Regions from separate parts of the Homo sapiens genome. Here region 1 is linked to region 2. The links are contacts of gene promoters, found by promoter capture Hi-C in blood cells and fetal thymus (Javierre and others, 2016). All regions are on one chromosome and are shown on one strand. Each heading gives the region's core, a stretch centred on a gene start or on the middle of the fragment in contact. The rest is flanking DNA. Distances are from core to core; before and after follow the strand shown.

What was found. The method cuts DNA at HindIII sites, captures the fragments that hold promoters and counts their contacts. A CHiCAGO score of 5 or more calls a contact.
Region 1: a contact is called between a fragment that was not itself captured here and the fragment with the promoter of METTL5 in region 2, in 1 of 17 cell types (neutrophils). The highest score is 5.5, in neutrophils.

The regions. Positions count from the first base shown.
Region 1 is chr2:169,113,986-169,119,203 of GRCh38, reverse strand. It overlaps the pseudogene UBE2V1P6. Among named protein-coding and RNA genes, the nearest start is that of DHRS9, 47 kb to the right of the region's middle. The HindIII fragment of the contact is 3,103 bases long and covers 303-3,405 here.
Region 2 is chr2:169,822,779-169,827,850 of GRCh38, reverse strand. It overlaps METTL5 (methyltransferase 5, N6-adenosine), which reads left to right and starts at 2,946. Exons shown (of 7, transcript NM_014168.4): 1 at 2,946-3,362. The coding sequence starts at 3,254. It overlaps UBR3 (ubiquitin protein ligase E3 component n-recognin 3), which reads right to left and starts at 397. Exons shown (of 39, transcript NM_172070.4): 1 at 1-397. The coding sequence starts at 343. RefSeq lists silencers at 44-603, 2,197-2,400. The HindIII fragment of the contact is 10,424 bases long and covers 1,809-5,072 here.

The DNA of each region.
Region 1 (5,218 bases), core at 605-3,104, 710 kb after region 2:
AGTTCCCCTGCACAACTCTGCATGACAGAGCCAAATACAAGGACTGTTGGCGGACGTCGGATTAGGTTAGAAGCAGAGTGCAGTAAGCATCTCTGGCAAAACATCCACTATGTTGCTGTGAGCATGGGTTGTGTTCCAGCCCTACGTTAAGTGGTTTACCTACATCATTCACTCAACAAATATTTGAGCACCAAGAATACTGGTGTGGGCATCAGGGGTTATAGTGCAAATGAAATAAACATCCCTAATCTCGTGGGGCTTGCATTTGAATGCATTATTTCCTTTAGTTCTCATACTAAGCTTGAGAGCTAGTACTATCATATCTCCATTTTATTCAGTAAAATAACTTAGGTGCCAAGAGATTAAATAACATACCCCAAGAATATAGCAGGTTAAGTCATGAGACTAGGACTCCACGCCAGGCTCCCTACAATCAGAGACCTTGTCCTTACCACAAGGCCTGATCACCTGGGAGCCAGAACTCCACAACTCCCAGCCCCCACCACAGATGGGGTCAAAAAGGTAGGCTTAGTGGTCCCAACTTGTTCTTGATTTCCTCAACTTCTTCCCCTTTGTCTTCTTAGTTTATAGATTCTCAAGAGATCCTAGATATCCCCCAAGCTGAGGGAAGGGTGAAGATGGGCAGGAAGGCTGAGAATCACGGGTTGTGTGTGAATTGGGGGCTTTCTTTGTGACCACAGCCTCCATGGATCTAATTAGAGGTTTTCTCATGCCTCCTTGAAAGAGAAAGGGTAACTGTCAAACGTGTGAGTCATTGTGAGGCAGGAGAATTGGGAATTAGGGTAACCAAGGGTTAAGGCAGAAGCAAAAGAACAGCAGGTGCAGCCAGTTCTAGGCAACATTAAGCAGCATACAGCATACATCCTAGCTCCTGAGATAACAAGACAGAAGTTTCCACTTCAGCCTCTAATTGACCATGAGCCAAGTCTCCACTTCAGCCACTGATTGGTCACAGGCCAATCCTTCATAGGGTGTGACCAACTGGAGGCCTCTAAAGGGCACCTAGGGGTGTTACCAAACTAAATAAAAATTAATAAATATCTTAATAAAAATCTTAATGGGAGGGGAAGCTCTTGAACCACTTGCTGGAGCCCGCTCCTACAAGAGCTCCTACAGGCTCCTACTCTGTGAAAAGTACTTTTGCTTTAATAAATCTGTGCTTTTGTTACTTCGTTCTTTTGTCGCTTTGTGCATTTTGTTCAGTTCTTTGTTCAAAGTGCTAAGAACCTGGACAACTCACAGTCAAGACCTTCCATCTGGTAACAATTGTATAAATAAGTCGGTCTTGAAATAAAACATTTAGAATAGATTTCTTCAATGGCTATTCCCTGGAATCTGAATAACTGGTATACTTTACACACACACAAAAAGAAAACAAATAAATTCCCCTTTGCATTCCAGCATGAGCCATGCAATGCTCACTAGTCAATGAGTTGAAGAAGCAAGTAGAGACCATCTAAAGGGGTATGGGCAAGGTTCCTATGAGGTCTGAAAAGCCAGCTCATGAAGTCAGGGCCAGTACAATTTCAACCACCCCTGACCTTTCTAGCATTGAATGTAAGTTTAATTCTTCAGGTGATAAATTGGTCTGTAGAGACAAATGGAAACAACCCAGGACACATTTCCTGTGCTAATGTTTGATATCAGAGAAATGTCTCTTTCATCTGCAAGATCAGAATGCCTCCCTTTCTGCAATACAGAACTTTGGGTACCACCTCACTCAGCTTTAAATTCTGTATCCTCAGAAGACTGGGTCATTTCCTTCCACTTAAAACAGCCATCACATGTGTGCTTCTGGTCAGGAAAAGGATTCTGACTCTATTGACTCAAAAAGAGGACTTCCCCTCCTTCCCATCCCTCCATCCTTCTAAGTTCCCCCCTTCCTTTCCTCACTTATCATCCAAGCCTCATCCCTCCCTGTCCCCTCAGCCTTCTTTTCCAGGGGGCCTGAAAGGACCAACCACACATCCATCAAAGGCTGCCTCTGACAGCTGAGCTCAAGAATAAAACTAACAGAGCAGAGGAAAAGATAAAGAAAGAAGGTAAGTGGTGGGAGGAGAGAGAGAGATAGGAGTGTTAGGAAACCTTCCTCTAGGGCTGCTTTTTGTTTTATTTCAGTACACAATGAATTTCTTTTATTTTGGTATGCATCCACATTTCAGCATTTAGTGGTCCTGAACAGAAAGTGGAAAAATGCAGCACTTTGCCAGAAGTCAAGCCCACCAATTTCCAGGATCTGCTGCGCACACTGAGTGCTTTCTTAATCCCTGCTGAGGATTTTGAGACGCAGCACCACCAAAACCAAAGGATGCGCTGAATTCAAGGGTCTTTATGTTCCAGCTGCCAGATTCCAAACGAGACCCCAGTGGATTGCAAGGATGACCAGATGAGAGCCCTGTTTAAAACTTCTTCAATTTTTAAAAGTTGAAGAAGAAATGAAAGCAAAAGAAAATAATTCAGAGGGATCATGTGTGCTTACAAGTGTCTTCATGAGGTCTTTCTCCAAGTTTAGCCACCAAAGACTCTGAGAGCTGGCAGGTCTGAGTAACCCTGGTTGACTGTTCTTTTCAGCTTATCGAAATCTGAGCCAAAAAAACTCATCAGCTGATGATGATAGCAGAGGGTGGCAGGGCTGAGGACCTAATATTTACTTCCCAGGCTGGTGGCAAGTGAATAAATGCAGTTCCAAAACTAAACCAGGGAGGTCAGAGACTTGTTCCAACTTTACCTGGCTTCTGGCCAAAGCAAGGAAATGTCATGGAAAGTATTGGGTGGTGACAGTGCAAAAAGGGACTTGAGGAGGGGGAGGAAAAAACAGCACCCCTCGATAAAGTGGGGGAGAGAAGATATGGGGAAATCCCTGAATTCTTCACCACAGGCGAGCGGAGGGATTACAATCTATGCTCTGGCCAAGGGTGGGAATGGAGGAGTGTGGGGACAAGAGGATGGCTTGGAAGCGGCATCATTTAAGGCTTAAAGAAAAAGACCAGGGATGCAGGCAAAGCTCCTCACATACCCAGCAGTAGTTCCACAGGCTGCAACCCTAAATCATCACGTCTACTCTAACAAGCAGCCCTCAGGCTAGAGGGCTGTTGCAGAGAGGGGAGAGGGAGGGGAAGTGGGAGAAGGCAGAGACCCCAGGCCATGTCATCAGCAACAAGGTGATTGTGTGATGTGTCTTTTTACAGCTGAGTTAGATGTGTCCCACCAGTTATGACAGGAATCAATTTAAATAGATTTTCTTGATGCCAGAAGCTCAACTACGTGGACAGTATTTACACTTGACATGATGATTTATTATAGCACAACTTATATATTTCAAATGGACAAAAAAATTAGTATCATTTACAATATCTTAAGATAAATTTCCTTTGAATGGAAGCTTTCTTTCCAGTACTTTCAGGTCTACAAGATGTACCTAGAAAATTTACTACTGTGGAAAATGAAGACTGCTTCAGTTGAATGAGGGAAAAGGTGAAGGCCCTGTGGTTTTACTTTTTGATTAACTGCTGTAACAGTGTCCTTCAGGTGGCTGAGGGAGTTTCATATTTTCTTTAGACATCATTAGGTGCTAAAGCTCTTGCAGAACAACTTTGTATCTCTTATTTTTTAAATTTATTTTGTATCCTTCAGTCAACTCACACCAGCAGAACCACTTTGATGCTCTATGAATTCTGCCATTTTGCTAGCACTGATATGGCTCTTGGTCTACCACTCCATTAGAACTCTTAACTCCATTCATATTAATTTTTGTGAAAAATCTTACAAAGTGGGGTCCTTCTGGGTATTTAGGTCCACATTTTATTTTAAGGCTGTATATTCGGTTTTCATCAGTTGTTCTTGGAGGCCCAGTTACCATCTCTGTCCATCTTGTAAGTATCATGTCTTCATCGTCTTCTACACCCCAGCCACCTGTGCCATCACCTACTCCTTTCTAACCTTGTTCCAGTTCTTCCAACAGTTGGAAATTCTGAGGGACTTTTACTCCCAAGCCTGTGGTGGCATCACTCCTCTAGTACTTACTTTTTGGAGTGGTTGCCCTGTTAGAAAACCTGGTTCATGGAGGGCCAGGTCATTTTTATTTGTAGGTTAATTCATCCTTTGCTAAATACAACACAGTCCTGGCTCGGCAAATTGTTCTGTTCAATTCTCACAAATCAAGCATGCTAGAACGTGATAGCAGCATCAGATGAAATTTAGAGACATACCATGATGCTCCTTCTGGATTCCTCACCAGGGCCTGTGTTCCCATCTCCCAGCTGCGGAGAGCTCACAGCTGTGCTCCTCGATGGACTTGCCCTCAGCCAGGATGCTGCCTCACTCTAGGCTACGAGGGCAATCAAGGCCAAGGTCAGGCTGATGTGGTGAGCCAATGGCTTGATCTTCATGTCAGTTTGGGACAACTCGGAAGGATCATTCCCAGCTTCAGAGTGTCCTATGGGATTGATTGAGGCCTCCATGGCAATTGCACCACAATTCAGCCCTTCTTTTTGCCCTATCCTCCCTTCCTCCCATCTTTACAGCTACATGCATAGCTTTCCAGAACATTTGCGAAGTCTTACAAAACTAATGCTTAACTTCATAAAGGGACATATCCAAGCATCTTTCTCTGAATGAGAGGGTGAAAAGAAAGTCACACACTTCTATAATCTGTACACTAACTGAGTAGAAAGGGTGTAGGTTAGCAATGGCACAGGAAGTTGACTTTTCACCAGCAAGGGGAAAAAAGTTTTGTTGCCTAGGAGTCTCTGCATTATGAGTGCAGTTAAGCTACCTGGCCTTGAGGATCACCGTGTCTGGAGTCAGATGGCACCTGAGCATCCTCGACTCCCTGTGAACTGCTTCTGCGGGGAAGAACACTGTCTAGTGCCCAGCCTTCACAGAATCTCCCCAGTCAGCTTTGCAAAAGAAACCACTGGATTGTGAAATTTCAGAAACAGATGAGAGCTTAGAGGTCATTCCATCTCGTCATTTCCAACATGGAATCTCCAGACTTAAAAAGCAGAATTGGAGTTCTTCAAGTTATTTTCAATACTTTAAAAAGCCAAATTGAAATGATGTGTTTACCATTTAATAGCAGGAGCTAACAGGCTCATCAATACCAGTAAGTCAGTTTAATCTTTAGTTCAACAAATTAACAAATTAATTAATCACGTACTTGATGCTAGACCTGGAAGATACAGAGATGAATAGGCAG
Region 2 (5,072 bases), core at 1,697-4,196:
CGTAGGCCCGCACCGCCGCGCAGAACTCGTCGTAGCCGCCGCCGCCCGCCAGAAGGCACTTACACCACTCCAGGGCCTCCTCCTCGGCCGCCCCCGGACCGCCCCCGCCTCCGGCCGCCGCCGCGTCCTCGCCGCCGGCAGCCGCGGCCAGCGGCCGCTCGGCGCTCAGCACCCGCTCCAGCAGCGCCTGCAGCTCCTCAGCACCTGCGCGGTTGTCCGGCCGGCTGAGGGCCGCCTTGAGGTGCGCGGCGGTGGCCGCCTTGTCTAGGGCCAGCCCCGGCGCGGGCAGCTCGGGCTGTGACGGCTGCTGGCCCCCGACGGCCGCCGCGGCCGCCGCCGCCATGATGAGAGCTCAGAATTTGGAGAGTCCAGGGCCAGCGGCTCCTCCAGGGAGAGTGAGGGAATAGACTGCTGCGATTGCTCGGCCCGCCCAACTCTCGCGATACCCGGAGCGTCCGCGCTCCTCCGCCCGCAGCCCCGCCCCTACACACGCCCCCTCGGGCTGCAGAGCCTTCCTCCCGCCCCTCTCTCCTGGGCGCCTGTGGACCAAGCTAGGCTCCCAACTTTCTAAGTTAAGAGCTACTGAAATAAAGTACTCACCTTATAGGAAATCTTTAATAAGGGCAATTATTTCTTTATTTGCATAGACTACAGGAATTATTCACATCATCTTTCAGATGTACTTTAGGCATCTGCATTTTGTCTGAGATGTACATTCCTACTGTTATCAAAGTCCAGCGGGCGACAGAATGAAACCCCAACTTAAGGAAAACAAAAACTGTAGGAAAAGCAATCCAAAGAAGAACAGAAGGCCAGGCGCGGTGGCTCACGCCTGTAATCCCAGCACTTTGGGAGGCCGAGGCAGGCGGATTACTTGAGGTGAGGAGTTTGAGATCAGCCTGGCTGACATGGTGAAACCCTGTCTCTACTAAAAATACAAAAATTAGCCGGGCATGGTGGCGCACGCCTGTAATCCCAGCTACTCCGGAGGCTGAGGCAGGAGAATCACTTGAACCCAGGAGGCGGGGGTTGTAGTGAGCCGAGATCGCGCCACTGCACTCCAGCCTGGGTGACAAAGCGAGACTCCGTCTCTAAAAACAACAACAACAACAACAACAACAAAGAAGAACAGGAGTGTTTCCAATCCATAACCTTGTGTTTGAAATGAATGAAACATAATTAAAACAGGTTATTCCTGGTCTTCTACATGAGTTAAGTATGTCACGATCATCATATAACAGTGATAAGTTAAATTTGCTCAATAATTTTACGAATCACTAAATTATAAACTAAATAAAACTTTATGTATTAACTTTACATGCTAAAACTTTGTATGTTTTAACTCATTTGATTCTCATAACAGATAACTTTGAATTCTGCTATTCCTAGAAGTAGCAGCCTCAGACACTTCTCTACTTCGTCATCGTCCATTCACTCTTTTTCTTCTTCCTATAATAATGCAAAGAGGTGTCCATCCACAGGCTTAAACGCAATCCTGCAATCCTTTTACTTAACCACTGGATCCTGCCTTCTCAGGATCCCAACTCCATCCAATATCCTCTTGCATTTTTAACCCCTCTCTTTCTATTAGCTCAATTCTTGTCAGAATTTGTCTCCTCCTGTCTTAAAAATAATTGAAAAAATAATAAAGCTTCCCCCATTACTAAGCATCCAACCATTCTTTTCGTAGGCCACCTTTCTCTTTCTCTTTCTTTTCTTCTTTCTTTTTTTTTTTTTTTTTTTTGAGACAGGGTCTCACTGTCGACCAGACTGGAGTGCAGTGGCGCAATTTCAGATCACTGGAAGCTTTGCCTCCCGGGCTCAAGCGATTTTCCCACCCCAGCCACCCGAGCAGCTGGGACCACAGGCTCGCGTCATCAGACCCAGCTAATTTTTGTATTTTTAGTAGAGACAGGGTCTCCTTATGTTGCCCAGGCTGGTCTCAAACTCCCGTCTCAAGCAATCCGCCCATCTCGGCCTCCCAAAATGTTGGGATCACAGGGGTGAGCCACCGCTTCCGGGGCCACGTTTAATTGTTCACATTTACTCTTTCTTCTTCCTAAATTTCCATTCGCTCCACAATCTGCTACAACTTAATTTCTGCTCCTACTTTATGAAGCCCGACCTCTTTCCAGTATTTGACACCACTACCTATTCTTTTATTTTCATTTCCACTGTCTTTTTTTTTTTGAGACGGAGTCTCGCTCTGTCTCCCAGGCTGGAGTGCAGTAGCTTGATCTCGGCTCACTACAAGCTCCGCCTTCCGGGTTCACGCCATTCTCCTGCCTCAGCCTCCCGAGTAACTGGGACTACAGGCGCCCGCCACCAAGCCCGGCTAATTTTTTTGTAATTTTAGTAGGGACAGGGTTTCACCGTGTTAGCCAGGATGGTCTCAATCTCCTGACCTCGTGATCCACCCACCTCGGCCTCCCAAAGTGCTGGGATTACAGGCGTGAGCCGCCGCGCCCTGCCTCTCCACTATCTCTTCTTTGGGTTTCTTTGACATCACCACTCCTGTGAGAATTGCAAGTGACACAAATGACCTAAAAATTGGGAAACAAAGTTACAATAAAATAAGGCATGAGAATGGAGAAGGAGGTAAAGGTGAATGGAGATCGCTACTTTTTGAGCCGAGACTTGGGAAACAAGAAGAGTCACTCTGGGCCATACAACAAAGTGACTGTGACTTTCTCTCCCGCATCCCTTTCACTCTGTCTTTCCCCATCCTTTGAGGGCCCGCAGGTACTCATGGCAAACTAGAGGGTAATGAGCACGCGACAGGCGGCGAGGACTGGCGGTGGGTCAGCAAGTAGCGCAGGCTTTGCAGGCGGAGGGGATGGGGCAATGAGGCCCCCAGGTGGCCAGCGGAACCCCGGCTCAAGATAAACGCTGCAGCTCGGCGCCGGGCCGCTGGGCGGCGAACGCGTGCGCGCGTGCGGCCTGGCGCTTCCGGCACCGGCCGAGGTGCGGGTCGCCTCCAGAGGTGCGTGGTCGTGGCGCGAGGGATCCTGAGGCTGCTCCAGCAGTGCGCCGCCGCCGTCTCCTGGGGCGGCTTGGGTTAGCCGGGAGGTGGGTCAGAGGCTCGCCCCGTGCCCTGCGTCCGGGCGTCTCCTTAGGGCGCGTCTTCGGGTCCGGCCAGCGGTGCTGAAAAAGGGAGAAGGTTGGGGGTAGGGAGGAAACAAGATCCCAGTTCAATAGATTTCTCCGCAGATCCTGTGCCTTCAAACCCTACGAGTCCATACTTTAAAACAAAATGAAGAAAGTAAGGCTTAAGGAACTAGAGAGTCGCCTGCAACAAGTGGATGGATTTGAAAAGCCCAAGCTACTTCTGGAACAGTATCCTACCAGGCCGCACATTGCAGGTAGGGCGGCTGGTTCACCACGCCCCGGCTTTCGGCGTTAGTCCAGTCTACTCTGTGATAAAAATAGAACAGTTATTTGGATACAGAGAATGTCTAGAGAAATTCTGCCCTAAGATCACCTGTCGCGTTAGAGAGGCCTTCCTTGACACTGCAGCTCAAGGCACACCCTCCACAGACATACACACTATCATTTTACTGTCTAGTTTTCTGCATATCCCTTAACACTGCCAGACATCTTTTTAATGTGTTTTTTTCTCTTCTCACATTACAATCTCTGAGGACAAGGAATTTGTTAGACTTGTTCATACTTGAATTCCCAGTGCCCAGAAGAGTCGCTGGTACTATTTAGGAGCTCAGTAAACATTTACTAAATAAGGATCAGTTTCCCATTGCTACTAATTGCCTACGCAAGGATTCTTGTGCTATATACTCTGCCCTAGAAATGAATACCAGAGTTGATAGTGGAATGATAGTTTAACAAAATCAGAGTATGTGCTGTGTAAAGATGAGCATGCATATTTTAACAGATTTTCTGAGCATTAGCATTGTTGCTTCATGCCAGATATTGATACTGGGAGTACAAGAGAGAATACAGGACAACATATATTTATGTTACCGAAGTCATTGGGAAACCTTAGGGGAAAAAAATTTTATTATTATTATTTTTTGAGATAAGGGTCTCACTCTGTCACCCAGGCTGGAGTGCAGTGGCATGATCACGGCAACTGCAGCCTTGACCTCCAGGACTCAAGTGATCCTCCTACCTAAGCCTCCCGAGTAGCTGGGACTACAGGCATGCACCGTCATGCCTGGCTAATATTTTTTATTTTTTGTAGAGACAGCGTCTTGCTATGTTGCCCAAGATGGTCTCAGACTCCTGGGCTGAAGCGATCTTCCCACTGGGGCCTCAAGAAGTGCTGAGATTACAGGCATGAGCCACTGAGGCTGGCTCCTTAGGAAAATTAATTTTCTGAGAGTACCTGCAAGGAGTTTTTTCCAGTTCCAAAATAGTTGTTTCTAAGTTGTCAATGAAAGTCAAGGAGAATACATGTGTATTTACACTTAACTCCAAGATACTGTCATGATTCCAACCAAAAATTCACACAAAACTACTGTGTCTAGGTTAAGACCAGTTTTCTCAAATAATGACTTACTAGTCTTCTGACTGTAGGTTTTTTTAGTGGAATCCAGTTTAAAAAATAATAACAATCTGGCCAAGTACAGTGACTCACCCCTATAATCCCAGCACTTTGGGAGGCCAAGGCAAGAGGATGACGAGCCCAGGAGTTCAAGATCAGCCTGGGCAATACAGTGAGACCCCAGCTCTTAAAAAAAAAAAATTAGCCTAGTGTGGTAGTATGTGCCTATAGTCCCAGCTGCTGATACTAAGGCAGGAGAATTGCTTGAGCCCTGGAATTTCAGGCTGCAGTGAGCTCTGATCCGCCACTGCACCCCAGCCTGGGTGATAGAGATAGACCCTGTCTCTGAAAAAAAACAACAAAAAACTTCTGGATCCGCAGGAATCAGTGGCCAACAGTCCTTGCTGGGTTCAGATATCTTCAGGGAAATATCGGTGGTGGTGGTATTCATGTTTGACCTTCAGTGTGTATCTAACACCCAGTAGTTCTATTATCAGGTCTCATTTGTAGATTATGAATATATATGTCTGTAGATCATGAGTATATGTGTCTAAAGGCTACATTGTGGAGC